Regions from separate parts of the Homo sapiens genome. Here all the other regions are linked to region 2. The links are contacts of gene promoters, found by promoter capture Hi-C in blood cells and fetal thymus (Javierre and others, 2016). All regions are on one chromosome and are shown on one strand. The core of a region is centred on a gene start or on the middle of the fragment in contact, and the rest is flanking DNA. Distances in the headings are between cores, read along the strand shown.

Evidence for each region. Contacts are between HindIII fragments. The CHiCAGO score rates a contact against its expected background, and 5 or more counts as called.
Region 1: the fragment with the promoter of TRAF3IP1 here is called in contact with the fragment with the promoter of UBE2F-SCLY in region 2 in 1 of 17 cell types (naive B cells); the score reaches 5.3 in naive B cells.
Region 3: a fragment that was not itself captured here is called in contact with the fragment with the promoter of UBE2F-SCLY in region 2 in 1 of 17 cell types (total B cells); the score reaches 5.2 in total B cells.

The regions. Positions count from the first base shown.
Region 1 is chr2:238,318,927-238,322,244 of GRCh38, forward strand. TRAF3IP1 (TRAF3 interacting protein 1) reads left to right here and starts at 1,592. Exons shown (of 17, transcript NM_015650.4): 1 at 1,592-1,859. The coding sequence starts at 1,737. RefSeq lists silencers at 1,246-1,725, 1,856-2,085. The HindIII fragment of the contact is 10,073 bases long and covers 1-3,318 here.
Region 2 is chr2:237,965,630-237,968,984 of GRCh38, forward strand. It overlaps UBE2F-SCLY (UBE2F-SCLY readthrough (NMD candidate)), which reads left to right and starts at 1,316. Exons shown (of 19, transcript NR_037904.1): 1 at 1,316-1,503. It overlaps UBE2F (ubiquitin conjugating enzyme E2 F (putative)), which reads left to right and starts at 1,385. Exons shown (of 10, transcript NM_080678.3): 1 at 1,385-1,503. RefSeq lists a silencer at 1,429-1,608. The HindIII fragment of the contact is 5,181 bases long and covers 1-2,338 here.
Region 3 is chr2:238,430,302-238,433,385 of GRCh38, forward strand. All of the region lies in intron 1 of ASB1 (ankyrin repeat and SOCS box containing 1), which reads left to right. Among named protein-coding and RNA genes, the nearest start is that of ASB1, 4.9 kb to the left of the region's middle. The HindIII fragment of the contact is 1,002 bases long and covers 750-1,751 here.

The DNA.
Region 1 (3,318 bases), core at 342-2,841, 350 kb after region 2:
TGTACCCCTAGAATTCTTTTTTTTTTTTTTTGAGACGGAGTCTCACTCTGTCACCCAGGCTGGATTGCAGTGGCATGACCTCGGCTCACTGCAAGCTCTGTCTCCTGGGTTCAGGTGATTCTCTTGCCTCAGCCTTCCTGGTAGCTGGGATTACAGGCGCCCGCCTCTGCACCCAGCTAATATTTTGTATTTTAAGTAGAGACGGGGTTTCACCATGTTGGTCAGGCTGGTCTCGAACTCCTGACCTCCCAACTCTAGAATTCTATACTTCTATGCTTAATAAATATTTGTGGCTGAATTTACTGGAGGTGGTTATAGGGGGACATGGAAGGAAAACTATAAAAATGCAATTTAGTATTTGTTGATAAACCATACAGCCTGACTGGCATTGAAATTGGTTGTCTGTATAACTTTTCCATTACCAACTGAACTGTGCTAGAAGAAATATTAAAGGAAGTTCTTCAGACAGGAGGGGTATGACACCAGATGGCGATTTAGATCTCCACAAAAAATGAGGAGGCCTGAAAATGGTAAAAATGAAGGTCAATTTAAAAGTTATAATGGGGGCGGTCGCGCACACCTGTAATACCAGCACTTTGGGAGGCCGATGCGGACGGATTGCCTGAAGTCAGGAGTTCCAGACCTGCCTGGCCAACATGGTGAAACCCCGTCTCTACTAATAATGCAAAAGCGAGGCTGGTGTGGTGTCGGGAGCCTGAAGTCGCAGCTACTCATGAGGCTGAGGCAGGAGAATCACTTGAACCTGGGAGGTGGAGGTTGCAGTGAGCCAAGATCGTGCCACTGCACTCCAGCCTGGGCGACAGAGTCAGACTTCGTCTCAAAAAAAAAAAAAGGTTATAATGGTGTTCTCATTAGAAGAACTACAGACCCCAGAGCTCTCAAATCGCCGGAAGGATTTCTGCGGTAGGCCTGTGCATGATGGACAGAGGACAGGTGGTAAAGAATCACGGACACCTAGTAGGACAACTAGGCATGGCTTTGTCCCGGTTTCAGAGCACCGACACAGCATTTAGTCACCATTTACCTTCTTGGGAGGTGGGTTAGGCAGCGGGCACACTAGTCCTGCTTTGTGGGAGCAGAAGTGAAGTCTCAGAGAAAACAGGTGACTTGCCCAAGAAGCCTTATTAATTACCAGCCAGGACAGCGTATTTTCTATTCCGTGTGTTTTGGGATAACTTAGTGCCGTCCCCTCCGATGAACCAGTGCCTTCGAAAGCCCTTGAGATTTGGGAAACAGGCGGCACAGATCTTGGAGGTTACCTTGTTCTTAATCAGTCCTCAGGCAGTCGCCTCTAACGCGAGCGAACACCGGCTTCCCGAGGCCGTCGCTCGGCAGAGGAGGGGCCAGGCGCCCGATCCCAGATCCCCTTTCCCCGCCCCGCCGCGCCCCGCCTGCTCTGGCACAGCCGCACTCCCGCAAATCCCTCCCGCGGAACCCCCACTCCTGCCTGCGCGGGCGCTGGAAGGCGGGCAGGGGGCGGGGCGCCGCGGCGCGTCCGTTGCTAAGGCCGCGCAGCCCTAGTGACCGAACGCCCTGCGGCGGCCGCGCAGGCGCTGTGGTGGGCTCCGGTGCACTGTGGGATGGAAACCGGAGCGGCGCGTCCTGGCAGGACCGGGCGGCGGCGGCGGCGGGGCCGGCGGCGGCCAGGGACCCGGGCTTAGGCTCGGCCAGGCCGGCTGAGGGGCGCGGGCGGCCAGCGGGCGGCGGACGCCGTCATGAACGCGGCGGTGGTGAGGCGGACGCAGGAGGCGCTGGGGAAAGTGATTCGGAGGCCGCCGCTGACCGAGAAGCTGCTGAGCAAGCCCCCGTTCCGCTACCTGCACGACATCATCACGGAGGTGGGCGCCGGGGACCGGGCCCGGCCAGGTGCGGGTCGGGATTCCGGTGGGCGCCGAGGTCAGGGCCCGGGCCGGGTGGCGCCGGGTGCGAGCCGGGCTCGGGCTCAGGTGCGGGTCGGGGGCCGGGGCTGGGCCGGAGTCGGGGCCCGGGCCGGGTGTGAACCGGGTGTGGGCCGGGCTCGGGGTGCAGGTCGGGGACCTGTTCAGGGCCGGGTGTGGGCCGGGCACAGGGTGCGGGTCGGGGGCCGGGGTCAGTTCCGGGGTCGGGGCGAGAGTTCTGTGCGGCCCCTGCCTGGGAGCCCGGCCTGTAGGCCCAATTCCGCGGCGCCCTCCGTGAGGAGGTCCTGCCCCTCCCCCGGCTCCGGGCCGCCGCTTACAAGGAGGCTCCGGGCCCTCAGGAGCATTCTTACTTCTTCCCTGCCTGCCCTTGTATTTCCTTAGAGTGCATCTTCCATTATTGCTGGCAGAGCTGCTTCTGTGACTCCTGCCTCGTCTAACCTTGCAGAACCCCTCTCGCTTGCCCTGAAGTATGTAGCACGTGGAAGGCACTCCCTAAATCCTGGGAGAATGGAAATAATATTTTTTATACAACCCTTCTGCCCCAAAGTTTCCCTCCATACCACATTTTGGGTGCTTAATAAATGCCTGCGGGTGGATTTAGTGGAGGCGGCTGTAGGGGGACTTGGCAGGAAAGACTGTAACAGAGCTGCACAGCCTGCCCTACGTTGAGATTGGTGGTCTCTGTAGCTTTTTCCACTTGCGGATGGTGTGCTCCTCCGTGACGGAGACCCTGGCTTGCTTATTAGCATGGCTCTGGTGATCTGCACTGGGTAAGGTACATAGAAATTGCACAACAAACATCCCCTGTTGAGTGGGACCTGTCAAGGCTCGTGGTAACTCCCTGGTAACTCTCAGGAGCGTCACTGCAGCGGGCGCAGCACCCATTTCCATGGTGGACCCAAGGGCACGTGGGAACTCAGAGGTGTGTTTTGGGATTTAGGATTCAGGTTGGACTTGCAGACTTCCAGGGCCTCATGACCTCACCTGGTGATGGTCCTCAAGCTCTGTTTCTCACTCTTTTCAACAGGTTGGGTGCCTTATTCTTGCACAGACTTTGCTTTACTGGTTCTGCCCTCCTACCTTAGCTTATAACGTGTGGTCTCCTGGAGCGTGTGCCTCTGTGTTAAAACAGTGCCTAAAAATGCTCTCGAATCCACCCACATCCCAGGGCCTCGCCAGCCCTGGTCATGTCCTCCCAGCTGGTGCAGCACTTACAGCCTGTCCTGGACAGTGTGTGGGGAGAGGACCTGCTGTGTGGATAGCCCGGTGGGAGGGGGACAATGTGCCGCATCACCACCGTCCCGTGAAGTAGGCGGGTACCCGTCCTCTGACCCAGAGGGAACAAGAGCCAGTGTGAGCCCAGCCCACTCTAGCTGTGGCTGCCAAAACCTTTATTCTC
Region 2 (3,355 bases), core at 66-2,565:
GTTCCAAATAGCTGGGATTACAAGGGCGCACCACCACGCCCGGCTTTTTTGTATTTTTAGTAGAGATGGGGTTTTGCCATGTTGGCCAGGCTGGTCTTGAACTCCTGACCTCAGGTGATCTGTCTGCCTCGGCCTCCCAAAGTGCTGGGATTACAGGCCTGAGCCACTGCGCCCGGCTGAGTTGTGTTCTTGACCAGTTTTCCTGACTCCATTCCCACCGACTCACTTAGAGCCAAAGCCTTTATTATTATTATGGGGACAGGGTCTGCCCTGTCACCCAAGCTGGAGTGCAGTGGTGCGATCACGGCTCACTGCAGCCTCAACCTCCTGGGCTCAGGTGATCCTCCCATCCCAGCCTCCTGAGTAGCTGGGACTACAGGCGCGCGCCACCACGCGGCTAATTTTTTTTTTCTTTTTTTGTAGCGATGGGGTCTTGCCACCATCAGGAGGCTGGTCTTAAACTCTTGGGCTCATGGGATCCTCCCACTTTGGCCTCCCAAAGTGCTAGGATTACAGGCGTGAGCCACCGGGCCCGCCAGCCTCCTTTAGGAAGAAAACCTGATAGTCACTCCACTGTTAGAAACCTCTCAGTGGGGTTTTTCGAAATGAAAGTCTAACTCCTTGTCTCTTTCTGACCGTTTCCATGCTGAACCTCATCTTTCTAATGGCCCACTCCTCCAGGGGCCTGCCTGACGCCCAGGACGGCCCCTCGTCAATCACACAGGACGCTAATGGGCGCGGGATGAATCTGGGCGCCCAAAAGAGGACAAGTTGAAATGGATTTTTAAGGTACTTTAAACACATTTAAGAGAGAAAAGAAGGAATAAAAGGGACATGACAAGAACAGTGGGGCCTGTGGGCGCAGCACACGGTTTGGGGTTGGTCGTGGCTTGCGTGTCTGACCGCCCGGTCTCCCTCACCGCCTGCACTGCAGGCTGCGGGGGCCTGTCCAGTCCTTTGCACTCCAGGTGCGGCGCTGGACAGCGGGAGCTCCAGCCACGGAGGCCGCTCCTTCAGGGAAGGATAGCCCGGGCTCCTCCGTGCCCCTAAACCCTGCAGACCACGAAGTGAACCCGTGTTGGAACCAGGTGCAAAACCCCCAGCCCTCCGGCGCTCGGGCTCCAGAGCCAACTCGGAATCCCCGCCCCTAACGCTACTCGCCAATCAGCGGCGGTTGCGAAATCCGTGCCCGCCCCCTGGCCGCGCCCTCTGCCAATGAGCGAGGTCCGAGAGGCCCGTCGCCCAGCCCAGTCCCGATCGGCGCACGCCGCTGTTCGCGTGTCTGGTTCCAAATAAAGTTTTTCGCGACTTTGAATTTTTTTTTTAAAGCGCCCGCTGCTGTCTCGGCTGCCGCGGGCGAGAGCGGCCGAGTCCCCGCCCCGCCACTTCCGGTCCCGCCGCCGGGAGCCGGTGCGGCTGTGAGGGGCCGCGTCTCGCAGCAGCCGCCCGGACCGGGCATGGTGTTGGGCGCCGGGCCCGCCTCGCCTGTCTCGGGGAGCCCAGGTGAGGAGCGACCGTGCGGCTCTGCGGCGGGGCGAGGTGCGGCCGCCGGTGCACGGGCTGGCCTGCGGGCCGGGCGGAGGGCGCGGGCGGTGGCGGGGCCGCCTCGGGCCCGCCGGGTTCCTCACGCCGGGGGCCTGGCGGGCGCGGGCACCCGGACGCGAGGCCGAGCGGCGTGAATGGGAAGGGGCCGCGGGCCGCGGGCCGCGAGCCGGGGGTCGGAGGCGGCGTCGGCGGCCGGGGCGCTGGCCTCGCCCGGCAGTGAGTGACCGCGGCGGCGGCGGCGGGGGACGGCCCGCGCCGAGCACCTGGTGTGAACCAGGCCCTGGGCCGAGCGTGGCACAGACCTGGCCGCGCTCACGCCCCACTCGCGGGATCGGCTGCCTGCCTTGTACGGAGGAAGCGGGGCGTCCAGCGCCTGGCCAAGGTCACCGGCCCGACGTGGCCGCAGAAACCGGGACTGGACTCCCGATCGGGGCAGGAGTCGCGCTAGGCCGTGAGGAGCGGGGGAGGTGAGGGGAGTGACAACTCGCGCCCGGTCCTCGTACCTGCAGCGGGAAGAGTAAGTATGGACGCTTACCTACAACTGGGGGCGGCCAGGCTAGTTTGGAAAATTTTTACCACAGCAAAGGAGACGAGGAAGGAAGGGCATCTTGGAACAATTAGTGCAGCAGAGTCTTGGTTCCAGACCTAGTTCTGCTGGTGTGTCATCTTGGGTGTGGCCTTCCCCTCCCTGGGCTCAGTTTCCTCATCTGTCACAGGAGAGAATTGGGTCCCCCCACTCTGCATTCCCGACCGCCTGGAAGTGGGGGCAGGATGGGTTGGAATAGCCAGAGAAAGCTTCTTGGAGGAGGAGATGTTGGGATGTAGGTAGGAATCTTCCCCTTAAGGAAGGGGTAGGATTCGTTTGTGAAGGGAAGGAGGGCATTCTAGACCTGGGTATCAGACTGAATAGAAGCTTCTGGAAATGAACAGGGTGTTGTGAAGGAACAAAGAGGAAACTGGCCTGCCTGGTGCAGAGGAATCCTGGCTGAGGAGTGAGATGAAGGCAAGGGGGAGCATAGAGGTGGGAGAGAGAGAGAGATTGAGAGACAGAATCACACCAAGCTTAGTGCTGTGGGGCTTGAGGACCCCCCACCTGGACATACCTGCCTTTCAGGTAGTAGGCAGTGCAGGAAGGGGCAGGTTTACTGCTGAACGTAAAAGGGGCTGGGCTCCAAAGATGGTCGGTCAACCAGCGTACTCCTGTGCCGAGCAGGAGGTTCCTGGGCACTGGCATTCTGTAGAAGAGTGGGATGTGGACTTTGTTGTGCCCTGATCGGGGCCCCTTTGGCTGGGGAAGTTGAGTGTCCCCTAGTGACCCGCAGTCCCATCCTTTATGCTTGGATTGAGACGTCTCCATTCGGAAGGAATTGTAAATAAGTAGCCCCCTCACCTTGAGCTGACTGGCCCCTGGTGTCCCTGCACAAGTGACATGGCCTGGTTTTGCCATTGCTTGCAGGGATGCTGAGTAAATATCACTTGATGGCACTAGTAAGTTGCACACCAGATGCTCTTCTCCGGGCTGTCTGAAAGCAGGTCCCACCCAGAGGAGGAACCTAACTGGGCCAATTACAACTTGTGGAATTTAGAAACTGAGAATGCTGTTCAGAACAGCTGATCTGTTACCGAAATGCTGCCTTAGAGCGTAATTTGCAGGAAAGAGGAAGTTTTGTTTTAAACCAGATCTTCAAGAGTTGAAGCATATTGAAGAAGGAAAAGAATTCTGAAGCAACTGCAGGTATTCAGCTAGCCTCTTGACAGTTTGAAGACTTACTTTTTGATAGAATCCTTTGGTTTAAATTTAATTTTACAG
Region 3 (3,084 bases), core at 1-2,500, 460 kb after region 2:
ATCCTTTGTTGTCATTATGACAGTGTCCACAGCATCTTCACCAGGAGTGGATTTCATCTCAAGAAACTGCTTTCTTTGCTCATCCATTCAAGTTTGATCATGCGATTGCAGCAGTTCAGTCACATCTTCAGGCTGTAATTCTAGTTCTCTTGTGATTTCCACTGCATCTGCAGTTACTTCCTCCATTTAAGTCTTGAGCCCCTCAAAGTCATCCATGTGGGTTGGAATTAACTTCTTTCAAACTCCTTTTGATATTTTGACCTCCCATGAATCACAAATGTTCTAAATGACATCTAGATTGGTGAATCCTTTCCAGAAGGCTTTCAGTTCATTTTTGCGCAGATCCATGAGAGGAACCACTACCTATGGCAGCGATAGCCTGACAAAATGTATTAAATGATGATAACACGTGAAAGTCAGAATGACTCCTTGATCCATTGGCTGCGGAATGGCTGTGTTCGCAGGCATGAAAACAGCATGAATCTTGTACATCTCCATGAGAGCTCTTCGGTGACTAGGCATATTGTCAGCGAGCAGTAGTATTTTGAAAGGAATCTTGTGAGCAGTAAGTCTCAACATTGGGCTGAAAATATTCACTAACCATGCTGTGAACAGATGTGCTGCCACCTGGGCTTTGTTGATCCATTTATAGTGCGCAGGCAGGAGTTTTGGAATGGTGAATGAACACTGACTTCCACTTAAAGTCACCAGCTGCGTTAGCCCCTAACGAGAGTCAGCTTGTCCTTTAAAGCTTTGACGCTAGGCATTGCCTTCTCCTCTCTAGCTATGAAAGTCCTAGATGGCATCTTTTTTTCCAATAGAAGGCTGTTTCTTCTACATTGAAAATCTGTTGTTTAGTATAGCCACCTTCATCAATTATCTTAGCCGTGTCTTCTGGATAACTTGCTGCAGCATCCACAGCAGCACTTGCTGCTTCACTTTGTACTTTTGTGTGATGGAGATGGCTTCTTTAAACCTCGTGAACCAACCTCTGCTACCTTCACTCTTTGCTTCTGCACCTTCCTCAGCTCTCTCAGGCTTCATAGAATTGGAGAGAGTTAGGGCCTTGCTCTGGATTAGGCTTTGGCCTAAGGGAATGTTGTGGCTGGTTTGATCGTATCTCCAGACTACTCAGATTTCCTCTATATCAGCAATAAGGCTGTTTTGCTTTCTTATCAATTGTGTGTTTACAGGGGTAGCACTTTTAATTTCCCTCAAGCTCTTTTTCCTTTGCATTCACAACTTGGCTGTTTGGCACAAGAGGCCTATCTTTGAACCTTCCCAGCTTTCCACATGCCTTTCTCATTAAAATTAATCATTTCCAGCTTTTAATTTAAAGTGAGAGATGTGTGACTGTTTCTTTAACTTGAACACTCAGAAGCTGTTGTAGGGTTATTAATTAGCCTAATTTCAATATTGTGTCTGGGGAACAGGGAGGCCTGAGGAGAGAGTGGGAGCAGCTGGTTGGTGGAGCAGTCAGAACACAGACCACGTTGATGGATTAAGTTCATTGTCTCATATGGCACAGTTTGTGGCACCCCAAAACAATTACAATAGTAACATCACAAATCATTCATCACCATAACAGATAAAATAATAATGAAAAAGTTTGAAATATTGCAAGAATTACCAGATTGTGACCCAGAAGACACAAAATGGACACATCCTGTTGGACAAATAGCTCCAAAAGACTTGCTCAGCACAGGGTTGCCACAAACCTTCAGTTTGTAAAAAAACACAATTACGTGTGAAGCTTGATAAAGTGAAATGCAGTGAAATGAAGGCTGCCGGTATTAGGTTGTTTATACTGAGATCTTTCTGGGCAGCTGATGGTTTGATTTTCTTTTTTATTCTGATGAGTGTTCTGTTACCTAGTAGGGTAGGTCTTTTCTCTGTACACTTACTAAAAACCAAAAAAGTTCTTCTCCCTTATATTTTAAAATAAACTTTAGAATATTTTTTGTGACATCTGATAACAAAATCCCAAAGAAATGGGTCACGCTTTATTTAAAATTCCTTGATTATTGAATCTTTTAATCCAAGTACTTGGTGTTTTTTCTGCTTATTCTGTTCTTTTGTGTTGTTTTTGAGTTTTATAGTCTTCATTAAATGGGCTGGATTTATATTTATGTACATGTGTTTTTAACCTTCGTTTTTATTGAGGTGGGACTTCTCTATGGTCAAGTGCACCTGTCTGAGGAGTTTCTTAGGCAGGCCTCCCTGTGGCCGTTGCCCAGGGCAGCGTGGGAGGGAGTCACCCGTGTAGCAGATAGCAGCATTTGCTCAGCCGTTGGATTTTGCCGTATGTCTTTTTTGTAGTGAAGGAGATGACTATGTTCTCCTTCATAGTTGCCCAGTATTAAGATATTCCCAAATACCAGTACTAAGATATTTGCTAGATTCTTTGATACAATATTGATTCAATCTGCTGATATTTTCTTTTTTCTTTTTCTTTTTTTTTTTGAGACCGAGTCTCACTCAGTCGCCAGGCTCTGGAGTGCAGTGGCGCGATCTTGGCTTACTGCAACATCTGCCTCTGGGTCCAAGCAATTCTCCTGCCTCAGCCTCCTGAGTAGCTGGGACTACAGGTGCGCGGCACCACGCCCAGCTAATTTTTTGTATTTTCAGTAGAGATGGGGTTTCACCATGTTGGCCAGGATGGTTTTGATCTCTTGACCTCGTGATCTGCCCGCCTCGGCCTCTCAAAGTTCTGGGATTACAGGCGTGAGCCACCTCACCTGGCTCAATCTGCTAATTTTTTCTTTAGGATCTTGCATCCGTATTCTTCAGGTTTGCCTTATCAGTGGATTCTTTGACACAATATTGATTCAATCTGCTGATATTTTCTTTAGGATCTTGTTTCTTTATTCTTCAGTAGGTTTGGCTTATAGTTCCTGGGCCCCATCAACTTTTAAAAAATTATTCTTGTCAGCGTTGGTGTCAGGAGTGTGCTAATTTAATAAGGGAAGGTTTCTACTATTTTCTGTGATTTATTTCTTTTGTTTTTACAGACAGGGTATTGCTGTGTTGCCCAGGCTGATCTTGAACTCCTGGCCTCAAGTGATCCTGCCTCAGCCTCCTGAG